Regions from separate parts of the Homo sapiens genome. Here region 2 is linked to region 1. The links are contacts of gene promoters, found by promoter capture Hi-C in blood cells and fetal thymus (Javierre and others, 2016). All regions are on one chromosome and are shown on one strand. Each heading gives the region's core, a stretch centred on a gene start or on the middle of the fragment in contact. The rest is flanking DNA. Distances are from core to core; before and after follow the strand shown.

Region 1 (7,067 bases), core at 2,679-5,178:
CCTTCTAGAGGGCCTAGAATAGTAAAGGAGAGGCACAAGGATAAGTTAGAGGCATGGAGCTCTGCCTCTTTGTTCCCCTTTTTGGTGCTGCATCCAAGTCTCTATTCAAATGTTACTTTATCAGAGAGAACTCCTGACCAACTATTTAAAGTAGCAACATTGTTTCTAAAAGAGCCATTAGGAAAAAAGATTAAAATTAAAACAAAACACTACAAAACCAAACAAAATAGCAACATTTCCCACCCTTCATTACCTCAACCCCCTTACTCAACTGTATTTTTCTTTTTTTTTTTTTTTTTTTTTTTTGAGACGGAGTCTCGCTCTGTCGCCCAGGCTGGAGTGCAGTGGCGGGATCTCGGCTCACTGCAAGCTCCGCCTCCCGGGTTCACGCCATTCTCCTGCCTCAGCCTCCCAAGTAGCTGGGACTACAGGCGCCCGCCACTACGCCCGGCTAATTTTTTGTATTTTTAGTAGAGACGGGGTTTCACCGTTTTAGCCGGGATGGTCTCGATCTCCTGACCTCGTGATCCGCCCGCCTCGGCCTCCCAAAGTGCTGGGATTACAGGCGTGAGCCACCGCGCCCGGCCTGTATTTTTCTTTTAATAGAGATGGGGTCTTGCTATGTTGCCCAGACTGGTATTGAACTCTTAGGCTCAAGCAACCCTCCCACCTTGGCTTATCAAAGTGCCGGGATTACAGGTGCCACTGTGCCTGGCCTCATTGTATTTTTCTTTTTCTTTTTTTTGAGACGGAGTCTTGCCCTGTCACCCAGGCAGGAGTGCAGTGGTGTGATCTCAGCTCACTGCAACCTCTGCCTCCCAGGTTCAAGCAATTCTCCTGCTTCAGCCTCCCAAGTAGCTGGGATTATAGGAACCTGCCACCACACCCAGCTAATTTTTATATTTTCAGTAGAGACGGGGGTTTCACCATGTTGGCCAGGTTGGTCTTGAATTCCTGACCTCAGGTGATCCGCCTGCTTCGGCCTCCCAAAGTGCTGGGATTACAGGTGTGAGTCACCATGCCCAGCCAGCATTTTTCTTAACAGTACTAATCAACACCTGATGTATTGTAATGTTTTTCTGTTTACTGCTTATTCCAAACCTAGACCTTAGGGCAAGGTCTGACACCTAGCATGTGGCTCAAAAAAACACTGGTTGAATGAATAAATGTCTACCTCTTCCAGTCCGGTAAATCCTAATTGCTTGTAGTTCCTGAATTTTGTACTCAGCAAGCTTTGTAGTATCTTGGGAATCTTTGTTTATCCTATGCTAAGACGCCTTTTCCCATCTTTCTCACCTGATTTCTACTCATGTTGCAAGACTCAGTTCAAGGGTTACTTCCTCCTCGATGCCCTTTCTGACTATTCTCCATCCTGTCCAGCATCCAGTACAGATTTTCACACTGGCGCTTAGTACCATGAAATTATCTGGTTTTGTATATGTTTTTTACCTCACTGTCCTGTAAACTCCTTGAGGGCAAGGATTATGTTTTATTTAGCTTTATTCACAGTGCCTAGCATAGCAGTAGACACTGCCTATTAAACTGAATGAATCACACACAAAAATTCATCCCTTCTAATGGAAAAACAATTCATGACCAAAGAAGTCAATCAGTAAATGAAGGACAGCGTTTTTTTTTTTTTTGTTTTTTGTTTTTTTTTGAGACGGAGTCTCGCTCTGTCACCCAGGCTGGAGTGCAGTGGCGTGATCTCGGCTCACTGCAACCTCTGCCTCCCAGGTTCAAGCGATTCTCCTGCCTCAGCCTTCCGAGTAGCTGGGACTACAGGCGCCTGCCACCATGCCCAGCTAATTTTTTGCATTTTTAGTAGAGACAGGGTTTCACCATGTTAGCCAGGATGGTCTCGATCTCCTGACCTCGTGATCCGCCTGCCTCAGCCTCCCAAAGTGCTGGGATTACAGGAGTGAGCCACCGGTCCCGGCCGGACAGCACAGTATTTCTTACAAAGTCTTTGGGCACCATAGCATATTGGCAATACGGGTACAGATTTTAAAAAATTAAGATTGATAACTGCTCTGAGAGATATTAAAATCAGCCAGAGAAGACAAAATGATTCAATGGAAGATATGCAGAATCATTCATTAAATATTCTATAATAATAAAAATAGAAAACACAGGTGGGGCAACAGCAATTGAGATTAGATTTGGATGGCTACAGACTAAGTGATGGGTACAACTATCAAGATAAATCAAAACACTGGATGGGCAATTGTGACAAAAGTGGGATGCTGGCCAGGTGCCGTGGCTCACACCTGTAACCCCAGCACTTTGGCAGCTCTATGCAGGAGGACCATTTGAGCTCAGGAGTTTGAGACAAGCCTGGGCAACATAGTAAGACTAAAAAATTTTTTAAAAATTAGCTGGTCTTGGTTGCGCATGCCTGTAGTCCCAGCTACTTGAGATGCTAAAGTGGGAGGATTGTGTGAGCCCAGGAGATTGAGGCTGCAGTGAGCCATGATCACATTACGCCATTGCACTCTGGCCTAGGCGACAGAGCAAGACCCTGTCTCGAAAAAAAAAAAAAAAAAAAGGGATGCCTCCTGAGAAAGAATATGTCATTTACTCCTAGATCCTAGATTCTCCCTTTATCCCTCCAACCAGACCCAGCTGTCTCATCACTACAACTCCTCGGTACTGGCTATCTGCAAAGCAGCTTCCTTGGGTTAAGACCAGATAAAGACCTTCAACATCTTTCAACCCTCACAAAGGGGTACAGTTCTTACCCCGTGGCTCCCCACCCACAGCATCTCCTCGTGCAAGTCAAAGTGGGAGACGGAAACAGGTACACCCACTTCAGCCACCACGCTGTGCAATTCAGAGTAGACACCTTCCATTATGTGCACTGATTCCTGGACGGGAAGAGCCTCCAAGGCCACTCCCTCTGGGTCCAGCTCCACATTCTGTAGCAGACTTGGGTTCAGGTGGGCATCCAAGACAGGGTCCAGGGCAGAATGCATGGCTGGGGCATATTCTGCCAGTCCAGGGTCCAGACCCTCAAAGTTCATGATGACGATGGCAGCTTACACCTGTGTCACACCCTCCCTTACCACAGTCCCTTTAGATGCCTGACCCAACCTTCAGCAAGACAGCACCGATGGGCCTAGAATGGACATCCTGGCCTGTAAGGGGAAAGAGGTAGCTGAGTCAAGGGTAGGCCCAGGTACTGGTACTTAGGGTCTTCTAGGTTATGGGGGCAGGAGGGAGATGAGGCAGGCATGAGGGATGAGACTGCCAGCCAAAGGATGAAGCAGGCGGGGGAGGGATGGGCAGTGGGGGTGGAGGTGGTAGAACTGTTGTCCCTATCCCTCCTCCGCTAGGCCCTCTGTACTCTCCACCACCCCATTATCTAACCTAATCCTTGACTTCCCTTTCTTCTCACTTCGGACTGCTCACTTGCCTTGTTCAGCCCTGAATCATCAGGTGAAGGGAGCGAGAATTGCGGGGGTTGGAGTTAGGTAGAGGGATTTAAGGTGCTTTCTCCCAGAATTGGGGGTGAAAACGGGTGGATTGGACGGTGGGGAGAACGAGAAGTCAGTTTCCTAGAATCCTCTCCAATAGCTACCCAGGATTCTCTAGAGGAAAACAATAATGGCCAGTTACCCACAATTGGGGCGGGGGCAGGGGAAGGTGACGGAAACGGCTAGTTACCCAGAATTCTCTGGGGGAACCAGAAAAATCGGTTATCTAGAATTCTCCCACGGCAGCGGTGAGGAGGGGGATAGGGCAAGGGTCAGATGTGTTCCTGGGATGCTTACGGGGAATGGGTCATTACCAAGATTTCTCCATGGCGGATATTTTGGAGCGCGTGGAATTAGAACGAGTAGGGGGAGCGCAAGCGCTGTCAGCTCCGCGGGAAATTCCAGTTTCCCCAGTTCTCCCCCACGCCTAGGGCTCAACCTAACCACTACGGCGCCAAGGACCGGGGTCCGAGGCGCTTCTTCCAATCAAGAAGGGCTCGGGGCATATTTTAGCCAATCAGAAGGGCTCCGGGCGCATCTAAGCCAATCAGAAGGAGCCAGGTACGGCGACCCCAGGAGAGAGCGTGTGACGCACGCGCCGGAAAAAGAGGTTACGGGGCGCCGGTGGGACAAACGCAGCCAGACGCCGGACTTGTTGGGTGGCGTTAGAAAGTAACTCTGTTTTTAGTCTTCTTGAACAAAATTACGTCTAGGTTTGAAAACCAAACTTTTATGCTTTCTATAACTTTAGGAACTCTAAAATAAGGGACACACAAGGCAAAGCACTAGGAGTCGCTGTTGGGTATTCCCAGCGGGGCTTAGTCTACCTCCTCTTCCTGCGGTGCCCTAGTGAGCCACTCCGCCACCTCTGACCCTGTTGCCCCCAAAACTCGCTGGCATTTCCTATTATTTCCAGATATGGGAGAGAAAAAAAAGGAAGCGGGAGCCGGACTCCTGACACAGTCCAAGTGGCTGCATCTTCTACAGGCATCCATCTGAAACTCCCATCCGTGATTGTTCCCTCCCCAGAGACCCCGGTAACATTCCCGGGTAACAAGATGCCCCTGGTTATCAAATTCCCCTAGCTCTTGAGGCTGGCTGGACGTTATCCCTCAGAGGGGGATGAGCATGGCAAATTGGGACTTGTTATTCTGAAGGATTCGTGGGTCCTGTGAACTCTAATTACTTTGAAATGGGTCTAGGTTGTGAGATGTCTCAGAGCACTTTAGCTCAGCTGTTATTACTGTTTCTAAAGGCCACATAAAGGGACTCTGATGGGAGACATTCCTCATGGAGGATTCAATTCTATAACATTTCTCTCAATAAAGGCTGGTAAATAGACCTTCATTAAAGGAACCAAGAATTTAAATTTCTAGGACTCAGAGGGGTGGGGTCCTATACCCAGTCAGAGATCCTACCTAGAGCCTAGACCAAGAGAAAAACACAGATGGTCTCTCAAACTGATTTGATCTGACTTCGCAGGTCATTAGATATAGAATCTCCGAAAAAGGTGGATGCTGAGAGACATAGACAGTTCCTACACTTTAAGAAATCTCCATCTTGAGGTCTCAAATTGAGAAAGACTTAACAGACCCATGAGAGTTACAGATCCCTAATAACCTGGGCTAAATAATCCATGTCTGCCGGGCGCAGTGGCTCACGCCTGTAATCCCAGCACTTTGGGAGGCCGAGGTGGGCGGATCACCTGAGGTCGGGAGTTCGAGACCAACCTGACCAATATGGAGAAACCCCGTCTCCACTAAAAATACAAAATTAGCCGGGCCTGGTGACGGGAGCCTGTAATCCCAGCTACTTGGGAGGCTGAGGCAGGAGAATCATTTGAACCTGGGAGGCGGAGGTTGCAGTGAGCCGAGATGGCACCATTGCACTCCAGCCTGGTCAGTAAGAGCGAAACTCCGTCTCAAAAAAAAGAAAAAAAAAAAGAAAAGAAAAAAGGATACTGTGAGGAGACACAAGAGCATCCATGACATAGATTATTTAGCTCAGCTGTAATTACTGTTTCTAATACAGTAATATTAGATGGTGATCTGCCTGCCTCGGCCTCCCAAAGTTCTGGGATTACAGGTGTGAGCCACCGCGCCCAGCCTTTTTTTTTTTTTTTTTTTGAGACAGGATCTCACTCTGTTGCCCATGCTTAAGCGCATTGGCCCTCTCACTCACTGTAGCCTCAACCTCCTGGGCTCAAGCGATCCTCCCACTTCAGCCTCCCAACTAGCTGTAACTACAGGCACTGGCCACCAAACCCAGATAATTTTTTTTTTCCTGTAGAGGTGGGGTTTTGCCACGTTACCCAGGCTGGTCTTGAACTCTTAAGCTCAAGCGATCCTCCTGCCTCGGCCCCCCAAAGTTCTGGGATTACAGGCATGAGCCACCATACCTGGCGTACAGTATCCAGTGTAATGCAGTGATTAAAAATTCAGGATCCAGACCGGGATGGTGGCTTGTGCCTGTAGTCCCAGGGGTGGAGGTTGCAGTGAACGGAAATGGTGCCACTGCATTCCAGCCTGGGTGACAGAGTGAGACCCTGTCTCAACAAAACCCCCCAAAAACCAAGAACAAAAAAGAATGCAGGATCTGATGCTAGATTGTCTGCATTAGAACTCTAGCCACTTAAGCTGGGTGTGGTGGCTCATGCCTGTAATCCCAGCACTTTTGGAGGCCGCAGGCGGGTGGATCACCTGAGATTGGGAGTTCAAGACCAGCCTGACCAACATGGAGAAACCCTGTTTCTACTAAAAATACAAAATTAGCCACCGGGCATGGTGGTGCATGCCTGTAATCCCAGCTACTTGGGAGGCTGAGGCAGGAGAATCACTTGAACCCGGGAGGCAGAGGTTACGGTGAGATGAGATGGCACCATTGCACTCCAGCCTGGGCAACAAGAGCGAAACTCCATCTCAAAAAAAAAAAAAAAAAAAAAGGAATTCTAGCCACTTAGAAGCTCTGTGATCTTGGGCAAATTGCTTATCTTTGCACCTCAGCCTCCTCCTCTGTAATATAGGGTAATAGTATCTACCTTAAAGGGTTGTTGTGAAAATTAAATAGTTTAGTACATGTAAAGTGCTTAGACAAAGTATTTGGCATTAAGCGAGAGTTGGATATATTAGCCATCATTATTAACCACCTGGGGGAACTTCAACTGATTTGGAGTCTAGGCATACAACTGGAAAGACCTGCCTAGGAGTGTCTTGTGAATGCGATTTGCATAACGGTTTAGGCCCAGCTGACGTCAAGGGCTCCTTATAGCTCCAGGTCAGTTGTAGCCCTGGATGTAGTTCCTGCCACGCAACAGTCCCACAATCTCCCCACCAACCCTTCTTCCTACCCAACTCCTGCAGCACCAGGAAGTGAAACAAAGAGGCAGAGCCCTGTGCCTCCAACTCACCCTTGTCCCTCTCATCCCATCCCCCAGGCTCTACTTCCTCCTCCTTTTCATCTTTCTTTCATCTCTTATCTTTTAGGGCTCCCAGAATGGGGACCAGAGATGGGAAGAACATAGGAGACGTTGTACACAAGTAAGGTGAACTCCCTATCCTGCCCCCTCCCCTTTCCTTATTCCATTGGTGTCCA
Region 2 (7,067 bases), core at 2,064-4,563, 280 kb after region 1:
AGCTACTCGGGAGGCCGAGGCAGGAGAATGGGGTGAATCCAGGAGGCAGAGCTTGTAGTGAGCCAAGATCGTGCCACTGCACTCCATCCTGGGTGACAGAGTAAGACTCTGTCTCAAAAAAAAAAAAACAAAATGAGACTTGTTCTAGGTCATTTGGTTGAAACATGACACGGCTAGATGTCTGAGTGAAAATCAAAAGACTAAGTTTTTTCACATTCTTCACACTACACCAGGGTAAACACACTATTTACTGAAAAATGTAGGTATTTCTCACCTGTCCATCCACTAAAACAGTGCCTATTATTATTATTATATTATTATTATTATTTTGAGATGGAGTTTCACTCTTGTTGCCCAGGCTGGAGTGCAATGGTGTGATCTCAGCTCACTGCAACCTCTGCCTCCTGGGTTCAAGCCATTCTCCTGCCTCAGCCTCCCGAGTAGCTGGGATTACAGGCATGCGCCACCATGCCTGGCTAATTTTGTATTTATAGTAGAGACAGGGTTTCTTCATGTTGGTCAGGCTGGTCTTGAACTCCCGACCTCAGGTGATCTGCCCTCCTCAGTCTCCCAAAGTGGTGGGATTACAGGCGTGAGCCACCGTGCCTGGCTTTTTTTTTTTTTTTTTTTTTTTTTGAGACAGAGTCTAGCTCTATCACCAAGCTGGAGTGCAGTGGCGCAATCTCAGCTTACTGAAACCTCCACCTCCCAGGTTCAAGCTATTCTCCTGCCTCAGCCTCCCAAGTAGGTGGGACTACAGGCACACACCACCACGCCCAGCTAATTTTTTGTTTTGTATTTTTAGTAGAGACGGGGTTTTACCATGTTCGCCAGGATGGTCTCAATCTCTTGACCTCACGATCCGCCCGCCTTGGCCTTCCGAAGTGCTGGGATTACAGGTGTGAGACACTGTGCCCGGCCTATTATTTTTTTTAGAAACAGGGCCTTGCTCTGTTGCCCAGGTTGGAATGCAATAACACAACTGAAGTTTACTGTAGCCTCCAAACTCCTGGGCTCAAGTGATCCTCTGCTGCCTGCCTCAGCCTCCTGGGTAACTGGGATTATTAAGCACACACCACCATGCCTGGCTCCCAATTATCTTTTGAATTCAGATGTGAATTCTGAACCTCCATGATAGTAGAAATGGGTAAGGTAAAAGGGTACAACTGAACCAGTATATGATAAGGAGCTAAAAGATGGAAAGAAAGGGCAAGAAAGTCCTCTCCTCTGGGCTAAACACACCTGGGGGCAGCCCAAGGTTTCACTGGTAACAGCAACTCAAGAAAGACCATGGCTGGAAAAGTAGTATTCCCAAGCGCTGGGACTAGGATGCTGGATTCCAAGGAGAAGCTGATTCAGATTCATTCTTCCCAGATAATGTTAGTTACACTCCTGGGAAATCCAGGTATTAGCAATTCATCAACATTTTAGATACCTCATGGAGGGAGCAGAATCCCAAAGTAAGAAATACCACTGTACCTTGGGCCTCCAGTTTCTTTAGGGGGCGGTTGTCTGTCTTGTTCAATAGCTCAGTGATTTTGACCTTAGGTGGCCGACCTCGACCCCGTTTCACCTTGGGGACTTCCTTAGTCTTAGCCTTCTCAGTGTTTCGAGGTCGACCCCGTTTGCCAGTAATTGCCTGAATCCTCGACGGGATCTCCTCTGCTGAGAGCTGCACCCACTGCAAGCCCTAAGGTAGCAAGGGAGACTGTTACAGTAGTAAGGAATCAGTGCAGGCCACGAGGCCCTCGGAACCATTCAATGCCCCAGAACCTTCAAACCCCACGAGAGGAAGCTGCAGCTTGTCCACCAACTCTTCCTCAGGGACAAAAGCATATTTAACCCTTGGGTCTGCACCTCTGGCGTGTCTCTTTCTTCAAAGAAATCTCCAACAGGCATACGGGGACTGAAGCTGAAGTGCTCTCGGCGGACACTGTGTACCACGTTGCGGCTCAGGTACTAAGAGGAAGAAGTAAAGTAACATTAATAAAGTTGGATCCTACCATGTCTTTGGCCAGCAAAGGCATAAGCAGAACAGGCCCAGAGCAGACAATGCCAGCCTGTTGTCACTGAGCCCAAGAACGGAGTCTTGGGCAGTGGAAAGGAGTCCACTGAGCCCAAGAAAGCAGTCCTTTAAAAAAAGCTACATTACCTTGATCACTTCTGGAAATTGCTTCATCCTCTTCCCACAGGGGCCATAATACCAGGTCTCCCCCTGCCATCGGTGGCTGCCCTTCTTGATGCGCACCTCTCTCCGCCACCTGCCAGAGAAGCACATGGGCCCTGCCGCCAGGTCACACCCCTACCCACTCCCATGCCACCTAAGCGCGAAGCCCTCTGAGCAGATGGCCCTCCCCACATTTGTATCTCTAGAACTGCATGCAGATGCAAAAGCACCAAGAGAGATAAGCTTGGCTAGAAGGCTGACTTGAGCTCCAGCAAATACATCAAGGCCCTTAGGAGAAAAGCACTACACCAAACTGCACAAGCTCAGAGAGATCTCCATCCCTCCTTTACAAAATCAGTGAGATAAGCTGCCAGAAACCCCTCCCTGAGCCATTCAGGGCAGTTACTGGATTTCCAGTAAAGAGGATAAAGACCTAAGGGGAATAAAGACAGAAGACAAAGGGCAGGGAGGCAAGCAGAAAAATAAATTTGCTGCTGATTCCATGAAAAGACTCAATATGCCAGGGTTTAGTTAGGAACTCTGTGTTCTGAGCAGAACACAAAGTTAGTCAGAGTTAGTTCTAAGACTAACTCTAATCTTTCTCTCAAAATTTTAAGCAGTACTCAGACTTGGTGACCACAAGTAGCCTTGAGGGGCAGGGGTGGGGAAGATCCAGGAAGGCAGTTATTTCCACAAGGCCCTGGTGTCAGCTAGTTTGTTCATTTTGGTCATGTACTGTTCCTGCCCTTACCTCTCCTAAGAGCATTAAAACAACAAAACCACCTCAATTCATTAGTACTAAGTCACTCCTCATTCATTACTATCCCTTGTCCACAGAAATAGGACAAGCCAGCTGGTTTGGATGTGAGCCCTAGGGTTTGGAAAAGATAATAGCTGGAGCTCCTTGGGCAAAATTGAGTCACTACAAGATGAAAAAAGAATAGGTGATGGAAGACAGACCTTGAGAGAAGAAGGAAAACCTAGGAATCTCATGCCAAGAAACATTATCACTGCAGATAACTGTCCTGTAATCTACTCTTGTCTGGCCCATTCCTCCCCCACCTCAGAGGAAAAGAGGCATTCCCTTCTTTCTAGAGTTGTGCATTAAACTTGTCAAGGTCAATAAATGTAGCAAACTAGAGCATTTACCCATGTTGGAGGGGAAGACGAACTTCTTCTGGGGTAGCAATACGTCTCCTCATGACATCACCTTGGGAGGAAGGGATACCCAAGTTAAGAGTTCAAGCAAAATATTTAAACAATAGGCCAATAGGGAAAGGCTAACTACAACATGGGACAGAAAAGTTTCTTGGAACCAGACAGGGATAGAATAGAATCTGGATACTCACCACTACCAGAAGCAGTGAGTCCTTCTCCAGTGATCTCTTCCACGTCAGCAGTGGTTTCTAGAAAGCTGCTGACATCCTTATTTGCTGGGGAGGCTGTTGGAAAGGCAGCTGCTGGGGAAGTTACGGGAGAGGCTTTTGGGGATGTCACTGAAGCCGTCAACGGGACTTCTAAGGAGACTGCTGGGAGGACTGCTGAGGAAGCTGGAGAGACCACTGAGAAGACTGCTGGAGAGACAACTGTAGAAGCTGCGGGACAAACTTCTGGAGAGATTTCTGGGGAGGCTGCTGGAGAAACCACTAGGGAGACTGCTGGGGAGGTTGTTGGCGAGACTGCTGGTGAGGTTGCTGGATGTAGCTGAATAGTGGATGACTGATCAGGAGCTGGCTGGGTCAGGGATGGTGGGAAGTCTGAAGATTGAGTTTCCATTTCTTCCTGTTCAGCGTCACTACCATTATTCAGGTCAAAGCTGTTATCTAGAATCCAAAGGGACAGGATAGGCTTTAAAAAAAAAAAAGGCATCACATAAAACAAGAGAATCTACTCAGTCAACCCTGGACCAAGCTAAACAGGGTTACTTCAAGGGGTCTTCCCTAGGGTTGGAAAAAGAAGTAGCTTTTTCTCCCAACCAATCATGAGGATTAAAGGGTAAAGTTGCTACAGATGTCATTGTGTGAAGAAATACCTTTTACCTGGTGCCAATAAAGCTTCTAGCCTCCTTCTCCCTACAAATTCCAAGTCTCACAAGTTCTTCAAAGCAGAGGGCACAGGTCGGAGTATAGCAGCCTATACCTCTTTTAGTTCCACCATACACTATCCCATAGCCCCTCAGCTCCCAGCAAGGTGCTCTTGCTTTCCTACTTTTTTTTTGAGATGGAGTCTTGCTCTGTTGCCCAGGTTGGAGTGCAACGACACAATCTCGGCTCACTGCAACCTCTGCCTCCTGGGGCCAAGCGATTCTCCTGCCTCAGCCTCCCAGGTAGCTGGGATTACAGGCATGTGCCAACACACCTGGCTAATTTTTGTATTTTTAGTAGAGGCGGGGTTTCACCATGTTGGCCAGGTGGTCTCAAACTCCTGATCTCAGGTGATCCACCCGCCTCGGCCTCCCGAAGTGCTGAGATTACAGGCGTGAGCCACTGCGCCCAGCCAGATTTCCCACTCTTAAGGCCCTAACTATGAAACTTATTCTCTCATCTTTTCTCAGGTAAAGGTCTTTCTTTGTCCTACCTACCGTCACTTACCTTGCAGGACAGACTCCCCTAGGACAGGTGGAGAGGTGGGACTGGCAAAGATAGAGGTTGATGTTTGACTATCATCTGCCAGGAGACTGAAGGCAGTAGCATTATTGAGGGAAGGGCAATCAAGGGCAGAAATCACAGGGCTGTCCTCAAGAGGCAGCTTGTCCTCTGCACCCATCAGCTCCGTGTCATCAATACCATATAGTCCTCCACTCACTGGCTCTGTTTACAAGGGTAGAAAAATCAGAGCAGGATAATGAGAAAAAAATCAGAAAGCAAGATTTAAGAAACACTGGTCAGAAAACATCCAATTCTAGTTCCCACAATGTGAAGATTCTTCCTAATATTAAGTTAGGTAACAAGTAAAGCCTTCTCCCTGAAAGAGTAGTCATGAGATTATAGGGATCATAAAAGTTTGAGGGGAGGCCGAGGCAGAAGAATTGCTTGAGGCCAGAGTTCAAGACCAGCCTGGACAACATAGCAAGACCTCATCTCTACAAGGTGAAAATGAAAGGAAAGGCATTGGTGGTATTATCTACCCAGAGACCTATGCAAAATTCTAGGATTTATCATAAAATATGTCTTTCTTGTACTTCAGTGGAGTAAAAGGTAACTGCTCACTGACAAATGTTTTCTTCCTAGTTTGTCAGAACCCAGAAAGATCAACTGTGTGATAATAAGTCCCTACCCAGTGAATTATTACAGCCCAGAGCTCTTGGCCAAAAGGAATACTGGGAAAGAACCTGGGACATGAACCAATTCAGCTCAGAATTCAGTTAGGGCACCAAGTCCTGTGGCATGTAACTGTGGTCTGCCTTAGGCCTACCTGGAAGCCCCAGTGCCCCTGATTGCCTAATACTTTTCCCATTTTACTGTCTCTTTCAGGTAAAGTTTGGCTACTCTGCATGGATAAGTTAAAGGGACATAGCCTCCAAACCTACCTGGTGCCAGAGAGTTGAAGGGCTCCAGAGAGTCTTCACTGAGGATTGGAGTGTCTTCCAGTTGATCAGGAAGATGTGAAGGATCATCTAAACAGCTCACTGTGGGGTCAGGGACCAGGACTGAGACCTCTTGGTGTAACGATTCCACAGAAGGGACAGAGCCATTGTAGCCACACATCTTCAGTTCTAGGAAATCACAGGAGAGACCAAAAGTCAAAATCAGTGCCTTATATTGGTTCACTTAGCTATACTAGGCAGTCAATCTTTGCTAGAAGGATGTTCATTCATTCAACATTTATTGCGGCCAGTTCATTGCTGGGAACCGATCACATCAAGATACTCTGAGCAGAGATGTGCTGGTAAAATCAATCCTACAGCAGGCAAAGAGAGGAAAAGAGAGTGGGGTCTGATACAACATCTCTATCATGTTCTCAGATATCTCCTCCATCCATTGGGAAACGAGAAAACATCCTGTAATTTTACAGAGTGGTGGTTACCCTTGTACCAGGAATCAACTGGAAGCTAAGCTTTTATCTATTTTGAGGGAAAAGATGAGAGGGGCTGTCACGTGTACTAATGCTAAACAACAAAAAAAAGGAAACTGAGTAGACAAATAATGATATGCTCTGCCTGCTTCCTTCCCTCCTTCGCATGCCAATCACTACATTGGGCTCAGACGACTTTAACAGCCAGTCTGATCCTGCCACAGTCAGTTAAAACAGCCTCAATGCCCGCTGCTAGACCCTAACCACTCCGTATATTTTGAAAGAAGCCTTTCTTGATGCAGGGTGTCTGTTGGGGCTGTTTCGGGCTCGCCCACCTGCCCTCTCCAGGCCAGAAGCTCTGCATGAGCTTGAAATAATTTGCACTCCCACTCGCGAGCTGGTGCTGCTGCCACAAAAACACCAGCCACTTGGCTCTGCTAATTGCTAATCACCAACATGCAAATCAGCCTCCACTGCAGAGAGCTGGAAAGACAAGTTTTTCTCACCTCAAAAAGCCACTATCCCCCCCGAGCTCCATTTTTCCTTTCCCCACCCAGTTCACCAACCCAGTTATACCTGGCTGCTCTTCTTCCAGCTCCAAGCTGCCTACCAAGCCAGTGCCATTCTCTGCCACAACTGAAGTCATCTCCTTTTCTGCTGCCTCATCAGGATGGATACCACTGCCTACCTCCTGGGAGGGTGCAAAGGTTTGAATGCTAGATCCCAACATAGGAGAAGTCTGTGGGGAGGTGAAAAAACTAGGGGGTCCATTGGGCATCACCTCAAAATTCTGGTCAGGAAAGGAATCATACAGTTCTTGTGAATCAAAGTTAAGCCCCATGGGACTCTGGGTACCGTTGGCCCAGAACTCTTGGCTCCCAGCCCG

The links. The method cuts DNA at HindIII sites, captures the fragments that hold promoters and counts their contacts. A CHiCAGO score of 5 or more calls a contact.
Region 2: a contact is called between a fragment that was not itself captured here and the fragment with the promoter of PAN2 in region 1, in 1 of 17 cell types (erythroblasts). The highest score is 6.1, in erythroblasts.

What each region holds. Positions count from the first base shown.
Region 1 is chr12:56,330,072-56,337,138 of GRCh38, forward strand. PAN2 (poly(A) specific ribonuclease subunit PAN2) reads right to left here and starts at 3,929. Exons shown (of 26, transcript NM_014871.6): 1 at 3,791-3,929; 2 at 2,742-3,137. The coding sequence starts at 3,023. RefSeq lists enhancers at 3,765-3,934, 4,060-4,279, 4,197-4,366, 6,701-7,067 and cis regulatory regions at 3,834-3,865, 3,850. The HindIII fragment of the contact is 11,393 bases long and covers 1,231-7,067 here.
Region 2 is chr12:56,608,257-56,615,323 of GRCh38, forward strand. It overlaps BAZ2A (bromodomain adjacent to zinc finger domain 2A), which reads right to left. Exons shown (of 29, transcript NM_001300905.2): 3 at 6,758-7,067; 4 at 5,697-5,882; 5 at 4,759-4,977; 6 at 3,517-3,990; 7 at 3,317-3,377; 8 at 2,153-2,261; 9 at 1,858-1,959; 10 at 1,480-1,690. Among named protein-coding and RNA genes, the nearest start is that of BAZ2A, 19 kb to the right of the region's middle. The HindIII fragment of the contact is 1,811 bases long and covers 2,409-4,219 here.